Linked DNA regions of Homo sapiens: region 1 is linked to region 2. Evidence: promoter capture Hi-C in 16 types of primary human blood cells and fetal thymus (Javierre and others, 2016). All regions are on one chromosome and are shown on one strand. Each heading gives the region's core, a stretch centred on a gene start or on the middle of the fragment in contact. The rest is flanking DNA. Distances are from core to core; before and after follow the strand shown.

Evidence for each region. Contacts are between HindIII fragments. The CHiCAGO score rates a contact against its expected background, and 5 or more counts as called.
Region 1: a contact is called between a fragment that was not itself captured here and the fragment with the promoter of TCTN1 in region 2, in 5 of 17 cell types (naive B cells, megakaryocytes, activated CD4 T cells and 2 more). The highest score is 6.9, in naive B cells.

Annotation. Positions count from the first base shown.
Region 1 is chr12:110,835,920-110,840,758 of GRCh38, reverse strand. No RefSeq gene overlaps it. Among named protein-coding and RNA genes, the nearest start is that of CCDC63, 8.6 kb to the left of the region's middle. The HindIII fragment of the contact is 6,129 bases long and covers 1-4,839 here.
Region 2 is chr12:110,612,326-110,617,567 of GRCh38, reverse strand. TCTN1 (tectonic family member 1) reads right to left here and starts at 3,439. Exons shown (of 15, transcript NM_001082538.3): 1 at 3,166-3,439. The coding sequence starts at 3,385. RefSeq lists an enhancer at 3,113-3,162. The HindIII fragment of the contact is 6,908 bases long and covers 328-5,242 here.

The DNA of each region.
Region 1 (4,839 bases), core at 815-3,314, 220 kb before region 2:
TCTGCCACTGGTTTGCTGTGTGCCCCTAGAAAAGCAAATAGACTTCTCTGAGCCTTGATTTATTGAGACTGCCAGGACCAAATGGAGAACTTTAAAGTCTGCAAAGATTGTGAAATATTTTACCCCACCCATGGCATTCAAAATAAAAACAGGGCTGAGCACGGTGGCTCACACCTGTAATCCCAGCACTTTGGGAGTCTAAGGCAGGCAGATCACCTGAGGTCAGGAGTTCAAGACCAGCCTGGCCAACATGGTGAAACCCCATCTCTCCTAAAAATACAAATATGAGCTGGGTATGGTGGTGCGTGCCTGTAGTCCTAGCTTCTTGGGAGGCTGAGGCAGGAGAATCACTTGAACCCGGGCAGTGGAAGTTGCAGTGAGCTGAGATCATACCACTGCACTCCAGCCTAGGTAACAGAGAGAGATTCCATCTCAAAAAACAAACAAACAAAATAAGTAAAAACAGTACTAATCCATAAGATAAGTGCCACTCATTATCTCAGTGACAGACTTCTGACACAGGTGTAGATTCTTCAGAAAACATTTTGGCCTCACACAGCAAGAGTTATAAAAATGTTTATATTCTTCAACCCAGGAAACCTAAATGTGGAGATTCATCCTAAGAAAATAAGTCAAACTTGGGGATTTTTTTTTTTTTTGAGACAGAGTCTCCCTCTGTTGCTGAGGCTGGAGTGCAGTAGCACTATCTCGGCTCACTGCAACCTCCACCTCCCAGATTAAAGCGATTCTCCTGCCTCAGCCTCCCAAGTAGCTGGGACTACAGGTGTGCGCCACCACACCCAGATAATTTTTGCATTTTTTAATAGAGATGGGGTTTTGCTATGTTGGCTAGGCTGGTCTCGAACTTCTGACCTCACATGATCCACCTGCCTTGGCCTCCCAAACTCCTGGGAGTACAGGCATCAGCCACCATGCCCGGCCAAGTCAAAGATTTTTAAAATGCAAAGGCACTCTTGTGTTCTCCTCTCTCTGTGCCCTTTGATGGTATGGCAAGGCATTTAAAGATGTTTCTGACATTTTTTTAAATTCTAAGACGATGTTAACTATACGGTTATTGGCTAGAAATCCTGAGTTATCAACTGTACATATCCATAGTTTGTAAAAAAGAACAAAACAACCAAGACAAACTCTTGATGTTCCTCACTTGGCAATGAGGCCGTGGGGGAAGATGGCTTTCGGAGGAGTGGTAGCTCAGGGCGTGCACTGTGAGACAGGACCTGTTGACTCCGTGGTGAGCATCTATTTAGCTTCAGGTGGTCTTGTTTCTGTATAGAGTGACATAGCATTCTGCTGCCATTCTTAGCTGTGGACAAAGTGGGATCAGCTGGCATGAGAAGTGTTTGGGGGTTTTTTGGTTGTTTTTTGTTTTTTTGAGACAGAGTTTCGCTCTTGTTGCCCAGGCTGGAGTGCAATGGTGCGGTCTCAACTCACCCCAACCTCCGCCTCCCGGGTTCATGCGATTCTCCTACCTCAGCCTCTTGAGTAGCTGGGATTACAGGTGCCCACAACCACGCCTGGCTAATTTTTGTATTTTTAAGTAGAGACAGGGCTTCGCCATGTTGGCCAGGCCGGCCTCAAACTCCTGACCTCAGGTGATCCACCCGCCTCGGCCTCCTAAAAAAGTTCTGGGATTACAGGCGTGAGCCACCATGCCCAGCCTTTTTTTTTCTTTTCGAGAAAGGGTCTCCCTCTGTTACCTACACTGGAGTCCAGTGGTGCAGTCATAGCTTACTGCAGCCTTGACCTTCCAGCCTCAAGTGATCCTCCCACCTCAGCCTCCTGAGGAGCTGGAACTACACCACACCTGGCTTTTTTTTTTTTTTTTTTAACAGAGACAGGGTCTGTGTTGGCCAGGCTGGTCTTGAACCTCTGGCCTCAAATGATCCTCCCACCTCGGCCTCCCGAAGTGCTGGGATTATAGACATGAGCCACTGCACCTGGCCTAAATTTTGTTTTAAACAAACTACAGAACTCTTCCTTGTCAGCAAACAAAGAGCCACCCATCAGTGAAAGTTCAAGAATCAGGCCGGGCGCAGCGGCTCATGCCTATAATCCCAGCACTTTAGAAGGCTGAGGTAGGAAGATCACCTGAGGTCAGGAGTTCGAGACCAGCCTGGCCAACATGGCAAGCCCCATCTCTACTAAAAATACAAACAAAGGCTGGGCATGGTGGCTCACGCCTGTAATCCCAGCACTTTGGGAGGCCGAGGCAGGCGGATCACGAGATTGAGACCATCCTGGCTAACAAGGTGAAACCCCGCCTCTACTAAAAAAACAAAAAAAGCCAGGCTGAGGCAGGAGAATGGCGTGAACCCAGGAGGCAGAGTTTGCAGTGAGCCGAAATCCCACCACTGCACTCCAGCCTGGGCAACAGAGCTAGACTCCGTCTCAAAAAAAAAAAAAAAAAAATACAAAAAAAAATTAGCCGGGCGTTGTGGCAGGCACCTGTAATCCCAGCTACTCGGGAGGCTGGGGCAGGGGAATCACTAGAACCCAGGAGGGGGAGGTTGCAGTGAGCCAAGATCTTGCCACTGCACTCCAGCCTGGGCAACAAAGTGAGACTCCATGTCGAAAAAAAAGAAGAAGAAGAAGAAGAAGAATCTTCTTTATTTTGTATGTTTAGAATGCTGAGGTATTTTTCAAGTTACATTAACAGCATTGCACTTTTTAAAAAGAAAAAGAAAATAAGCCAAAGGCAAAAAAAATCCATATATACAAAGATGCCGATTGTAAAATCATCTCTACATAGGCAAGTGGAAATAAGTAAAAATCAACAAAATAAACACTTGGAATGAAAAAAGCCAAGCCCAGAAGAGCTCATACTGAAAAATGCCATTCATATAAAGCACAAAATTAGGGGAAGCTAACTTTGCCTTTAGAAGTCAGAATAGAGGTTATATGGTAGAGGGGGATAGAGAAGAAATAACTGGAAGGGAAATCAAGAGGCTTTCAGGGCTGCAGATATTCTGTTTCTTGATCTGGTTACATAATCAATTCATTTGTGAAAATTCATCCAGCCATACACTTCTGATATGGACCCCTTTATATGTGTGTATTGTACTCCGATACAAAAGTTTTCTAGACAGATGAACAAGAGGAGGATTTTTTTTTTTTTTCGAGATGGAGTCTTGCTCTGTCGCCCAGGCTGGAGTGCAGCGGCGCTATCTCTGTTCACTGCAACCTCCGCCTCCTGGGTTCATGACATTTTCCTGTCTCAGCCTCCCGAGTAGCTGGGACTACAGGTGCCCACCACCACGCCCAGCTAATTTTTTGTATTTTTAGTAGAGACAGGGTTTCACTGTGTTAGCCAGGATGGTCTCGATCTCCTGACCTTGTGATCTGCCCACCTCCGCCTCCCAAAGTGCTGGGATTACAAGTGTGAGCCACCACGCCATGGCCAAGAGGAGGATTTTTAAAGTAAATTATGGCTTATCTACTCATGGGACATTCTAGAGCATCGAAAAACGTAAAAATAACCACACCTGGCCTGGTGCAGTGGCTCGCACCTATAATCCTAGCACTTTGGGAGGTCAAGGTGGGAAGATCGCTTGAGTCCAGGAGTTAGAGACCAGCCTGGGCAACATAATGAGACCCCCATCTCTATTTAAAAATGTTTAATACAAAATAAAATAAAATACCCACATCTATTAAGCATATGCATGGTATGTACATATTGTTTTTCGTCGTCTAGTCCATCTTCTGTCCAATTCATTTGCCACTCTTCTCTTCCTGCTGTGTGTCTCAAGAAGTGGACAGTGTGATCCACATCACTCAAGGTCTCCCTTACCTTCTGTCTTCTGGTTGAATGTGGCCAATGACAGAGACCAGCAGGAGACCAGTCAGACAGGGTGAGAGAGATGTGAGACGTTTCTTTCAAAGTTCTTGCATACTTTGACATCCTGTCCCTGCTAGTCGCTACATCCCTATGTAGCTACAGCTTCTGTCTATATGGCCCCCCTCCCCAGCTCCAGCCCTCACTGGGCTTCCATCACATCAGTTCCTTCTCCTGCCTTGTCCTACCTTTAGTGTGGCAATGGCTTCCTTCTCTTGCTATTCTCTCAGTGCCTCAATCTCTCTTCTCTGTTCCCTTAACCCTGCCCACACTCTAAGAGAAGTCCTTCTTTAAAGTCTTTTGAACTGTCTGGGTTGGATTCAGTTTTCTTCGGAGCCCTGACCGTCACAGCCACTCCTCACCTTCCCATGTGACAAGTAAGTGACCTTCTTGGGTTCAATGCTGCAGAGACTGTGCCTTCAGCAGAGTGATGGGAACCAGCCCGGGAGTGAAGCCAGCATTAATTTCAATTTGGCACCAGGAGTTGTGCCAAATGCTTTCATCTTTTATTTTATTTCTATTTTTTTTTTATTTTTATTTTTTGAGACCAAGTCACTCTGTTGCCCAGGCTGAAGTGCAGTGGCACAATCTCGGCTCACTGCAACCTCCACCTCCCGGGTTCAAGCAATTCTCCTGCCTCGGCCTCCCTAGTCGCTGGGATTACAGGGTCATGCCACCACACCTGGCTAATGTTTGTATTTTTAGTAGAGTTGGGGTTCACCATGTTGGCCAGGCTGGTCTCGAACTCCTGACCTCAGGTGACCCACCCACCTCGGCCTCCCAAAGTGCTGGGATTACAGGCAGGAGCCACTGCACTTGGCCTCATCTTTTTCTTTTTCTTTTTTTTTTTTTTTCAAGAGAGGGTCTCAATCTGTCACCCAGGCTGGAGTGCAGTGGTGCAATCACGGCACAGCCTCAACCTCCTAGGCTCAAGTGATCCTCCTGCCTCAGCCTTGTTTCATCTTTTTGAAAAAGTAAAGAACTGA
Region 2 (5,242 bases), core at 2,190-4,689:
ATCCCCTGAGGTTAGGAGTTTGAGACCAGCCTGGCCAACGTGGTAAAACCCCATCTCTACTAAAAATACCAAAAAAATTAGCCAGGCATGGTGGCGCGCGGCTGTAATCCCAGCTACTTGGGAGGCTGAGGCAGGAGAATCGCTTGAACCTGGGAGGTGGAGGTTGCAGTGAGCTGAGACTGCGCCACTGCATTCCAGCCTGGGCAATTAAAAAAAAAAAAATAGTACCCCGTAAAAGGTATAATGCACTCTGCAAAAAAAATGTGTGAGGTGAAGGGGAAGGTTTTGTTAATATGCCATGATTTCTTAGTCTAAGACACAAAAGCTTTCCCCCTAAAGTTTACAGTGCTTCTCTCTAGTTGAGAACTCTTCTATGTGCCTAGTAAAATGACACAACTTATGCACGCTAATGTAAAAAATTAAAAGTGCTTTAGGTTCCCTGTATGTTTAAAATTACTATCTTGCTTTGTTTTCAAAACTTAAAGCCCTTATAGGCAGCTGTAAGACTACTAAGGACGAAGCAATAGTGTTTAATAACTCCACTTAGGAAAAAGGTTTCTACCCAGGATGCGAGTGTACTTAATCATCCACCAAGTAGCTGTTGAGCCCCTGTCAGGTCTAAGCAGCACTCAGCTGCCCTTGCCTCCTATCGCATCTGCACACCTGGCTTGTAGAGCAGGGTACTAATGAACAGAGCCCAGATTCAAGATGAAGGGTTATCACTCTTCTCCACCAACACTGCCTGAAGCCACCTGCAATTTTCCATCCAGTTCTCCACTCACAGTCAGCCTCCTGCTCCGATATCTACAAGTTGCGTGTCCTAAAATTAGGCAAATAATTTATCCACCTGAAAAATGGGGATAACAGTACCCTCATCATGGGGTTGTTGTAAGGATTAAATGAGATACATCATAGGTGAAATGCTTAGCACAGTGCCTGCCACACAGTGAACAGTTAACAAATGAGTTATTACTGTCACAAGTCTAAAGAGAGGTCCTTTAAAAAGGTGAAGACAGGTGACTGGCAGAGTGCAGTGGCTCAAGCCTGTAATCCTAACACTATGGGAGGCCTAGGTGGGCAATCACTTGAGGCCAGGAGTTCAAGACCAGCCTGGGCAACATGGTGAAACCCCGTCCCTACAAAAAATTAGCCGGGCGTGGTGGCATGCAGCACCTGTAGTTCCAGCTACCCGGGAGTCTGAGGTGGGAAGATCACCTGAGCCTAGGAGGTCGAGGCTGCAGTGAGCTGTGATCATGCCACTATACTCCAGCCTGAGTGACAGAGTGAGACCCTGTGACCAAAAAAAAAAAAAATAAAGTGTGAGGACAAGCACAAATTCATCCCCTATACTGGAAAAACAGCCTTGAACACATGCTATAATAATGATGTTTCAAGCATAGCTTTATTTTGGAGAGAAAATGCATTAACAGATGGAGTACTTACATGAATAAAAGACAATCCAGTCCAAAAACTTTAGAGTTTCAGGCATTGAATACTTGGCTTTCTTCTGTCCCAGTTTATCACTGATTTAACTTCCCTACTAATTCATCAAATCAACAATTTAAATATAAAACAGAGCTCTGTTTATATATTAAAATAGCAAATATATTTCTCTGTACTTTTTCTTTCAGATTACTCGTAATTCAGAAAGGAGAGCTTTTGGAGAAATAAAGGTTCAGTAACCGCAGTTAAGTCCTAGAGTTCAAGATCTCAGCTGATGACTTTTTTACTTACTAATACTGAGCCTTAATCAATTTGAGAAAAGATCTTCTTAAGAAGGGATAGGCTGGGCACAGTTGTTTACACCTGTAATCCCAGCACTTTGGAAGGCCAAGGTGGGAGGATCACTTGAGCCCAGGAGTTTGAGATCAGCCTGAACAACATAGCGAGATCTCATCTCTACTAAAAATAAAAAAATAAAAAAAGCAAGCTGGGGGAGCACGCCTGTGGTTCCAGCTACTCTGGAGGCTGAGGCAGAAGGATCCCTTGAGCCCAGCAGATTGAGACTTAAGTGAGATATAATCACGCCACTGCACTCCAGCCTGGGTAACAGAGCGAGACCTTGTCTCAAAAACAAAAAAAGAATAAAAAAAGATTAAAAGTACTGCATATCTATTGGGGTTACTCTCAATTCACACAATCGGAAAATTTTAAAAACTTTTTTTGAGATCATGAACCACTTTAAGAATCGGCTGCTATGAACTCTCATCTCAGGAAAAGGCATATTCACAAAGTTTTGCACTCAATCTTAGCGGGTCACAGTCATTCAGTGAAGTCATCCATGTCAATTTTTTTTTTTGAGACAGTCTTGCTCTGTCGCCCAGTCTGGAGTGCAGTGGTAATTACTGCAACCTCTGCCTCCTGGGTTCAAGCGAGTCTCCTGCCTCAGCCTCCCGAGTAGCTAGGATTACACCATGCCCGGCTATTTTTTCTATTTTTAGTAGAGACTGGGTTTCGCCATTTTGACCAGACTGATCTTGAACTCCTACCTCAAGCAATCCACCCGAGTTGACCTCCCAAAGTGCTGGGATTACAGGCGTGAGCCACGGCGCCAGCCAAACGTCAAATTAGATTATAAAATATTTCCACTAAATGTGTAATTCTAGAATTAATCATTTTCTGAAAAAAATGTTAATTATCCCTACATATGACTCCTAAGAAGTGAGCATAACCCCTCCCTCAATAGCTTTCCACCTCCAATTCAACACAGGAGGAATCCTGGGTTTTTAGAATTCAGGTCAACAGAGAAGGGTCTTAACATAGTCACATTTAGTAAGATAGACCTTTGGCCTCTCTTTAAGTGAAAGTTCAGTGCAGCCAAGGCACTAATTTCCACCATTGTCTCGACTTAATTTCGTCTTGGGCTGCAAGAATTCATTATTGCTCTTTGCATCACTGTTGTCTGGGACCACTTCAAGTATTTTCAAAGGTTTGATACCGTTCCACTTAAACTCTGAGACCCGGTTTTCTCATTTACCTGACAGTGATAGTAACAGCTACTTCTCAGGGTTATTGTTTAGAGAATGGACGTTTATGGAACACTCAGCAGTGTCTGCACACAGTAAGTGCTCAATAAGAGTTAGCTATCATTATTACGTCCTCACCGGGGCTGTCCCCTTGAGGTTGGATCACTGTGGACTCCAGGAGCTGGCACATGGTACCCACCGTCCGTGACTGGGGTAGGCCTGGGGCCGGAGGAGGGCCCTGGAGCCCTGGGAGTCCCGGGGGGCCTGGTCGACGGGAAAGTTCCGAAGGTGGCCAGGGCTGCCTCGGTGGAGTTGAGGCCCTCTGTCGTCACCGCCGGGGTGGCATCGGTCTGGGCGCTCACGGAGGCCCAGCAGCCCAGGAGCACCACCAGGAGCGGCGGGAGACCTCGCGGCCTCATCTCCCAGGGAGTCCCAGCGAGGCCCGCGACATGGACAGCGCGTTGCCCGGCAACCGCGACAGCCAGGCGCGGGGCATCACGGGAAGGGGCTTGCGAAGCCGCGAGAAGCTGCCGGAGACTGACTGGGGCGAAGCCTGGATGAGGCAGGGGGCGGATCCCGGATGAGGCCGGAGGGCGGCGCCTGGGTGAGGCAGCGATGGCAGGCACAGGGGCGAGCACTAGTGAGCGGGTGTGAAGCTGGCGTAAACGAGGGGCGTGTAAATCCCGGCTGTGGTTTCCAACCGGTCCGCGGCGCTTGCTTAAAAAATGCAGATTTTCTGTAGTTCCAGCTACTCGGGAGGCTGAGGCAGAAGAATCGCTTGAACCCGGGAGGTGAAGGCTACAGAGAGCCGTGAGCGTGCCACTGCACTCCAGCCTGGGCGACAGTGTGACACTCTGTCTCAACCAAAAAAAAAAAAAAAAAAAAAAAAGACGGATTTCCAGGTACCACCTCAGGAGATCCTGAGTCAGTTAGTCTAGGGCAGGACCCAGGAATCAGTTTTTGGGGGATTTTTTTTGAGACAGGGTCTCACTCTGTCGCCCAGGCTGGAGTGCAGTAGCGCGATCTCGGCTCACTGCAGCCTCGACCTCTGGGACTCAAGCAATCCTCCCACTTCAGCCTCCTGAGTAGCTGGGAACTCAGGCGCGCGCCACCATACCCAGCTAATTTTTGTATTTTTTTTTTTTTTTTTTTTTTTTTGTAAAGACGAGGTCTCCCTCCGTCGCCCGGACTGGTATCGAACTCCTGGTTCAAGTGATCCACCTGCTCCAGCCTCCTGAGTCCTGAGTAGTTGGGATTACAGGCGTGAGCCACCACTCCCAGCCAGGAATAAATATTTTTAACAAATGTCCGGACGCAAGCAGATGAGTTGGACGGAAATTTAGGAAGCGCCGTCCCAACGCCACTAACGTGGGTGTTTGGAAGGAGCACAGGGATCTGTGAGATCACTGTCTCTGAATTTTCTCTATCCCAGACTCTGTCAACACTGGCTTCACCTTTTTATTTTAGCTGCATCTCACAAGGTTGCCAGATAACTTCTGTCTGCTGTATTGTGATAAAGGGGACAAATGAACACTTAATACCTTTTATTATTTTTTGTAGAGAGGGGGTCTCACTATGTTGATCAGGCTAGTCACAAACTCCTGGCCTCAAGTGATCCTCCCGCCTCAGCCTCCCAAAGAGCTAGGATTACAGGCATGAGCCACCACGCCAGGCCTAAGAACCTATTTAAAGACAAAAATCTTTTACAAAAATTAAGTAAAATAATTTAGACATCTTAAAGGGGAAAACAAAGCAAATCCACTGTAATGCTACAAAACGACCTGGAGACCCTACGATTTAGGAAACCCTCTCCATTCTGAATGGGCTTATTTAGGAGGTACCCAAGCCCAAGAATGTTGGCTGCACCTTTGACACTTAATCTCCATACAGTTCAGAAGTAGATGTCGAAGTACTTAGACGTGGCCAGGCACAGTGGCTCACACCTGTACTCCCAGCCCTTTGGGAGGATCGCTTGAGTCCAGGAGTTGAGACCAGCCTGGGCAACATGGTGAAACCACATCTCTACAAAAAATACAAAAATTAGCCAGGTATGGTGGCACATTCCTGTAGTCCCAGCTACTCAGGAGGCTGAGGTGGAAGGATCGCCTCAGTCTGGAGAGCTTGAGGCTGCAGTAAGCCATGATAGTGCCACTGCACTCCAAAACAAAAAAACCTTAAACATAACACAGTATTTATTCAAGAAATGTATATACCAATTCAAAAGGATGTCAAACAGTATATATATCTAGTTTATTAAATGTATTTAGCAAAACTAA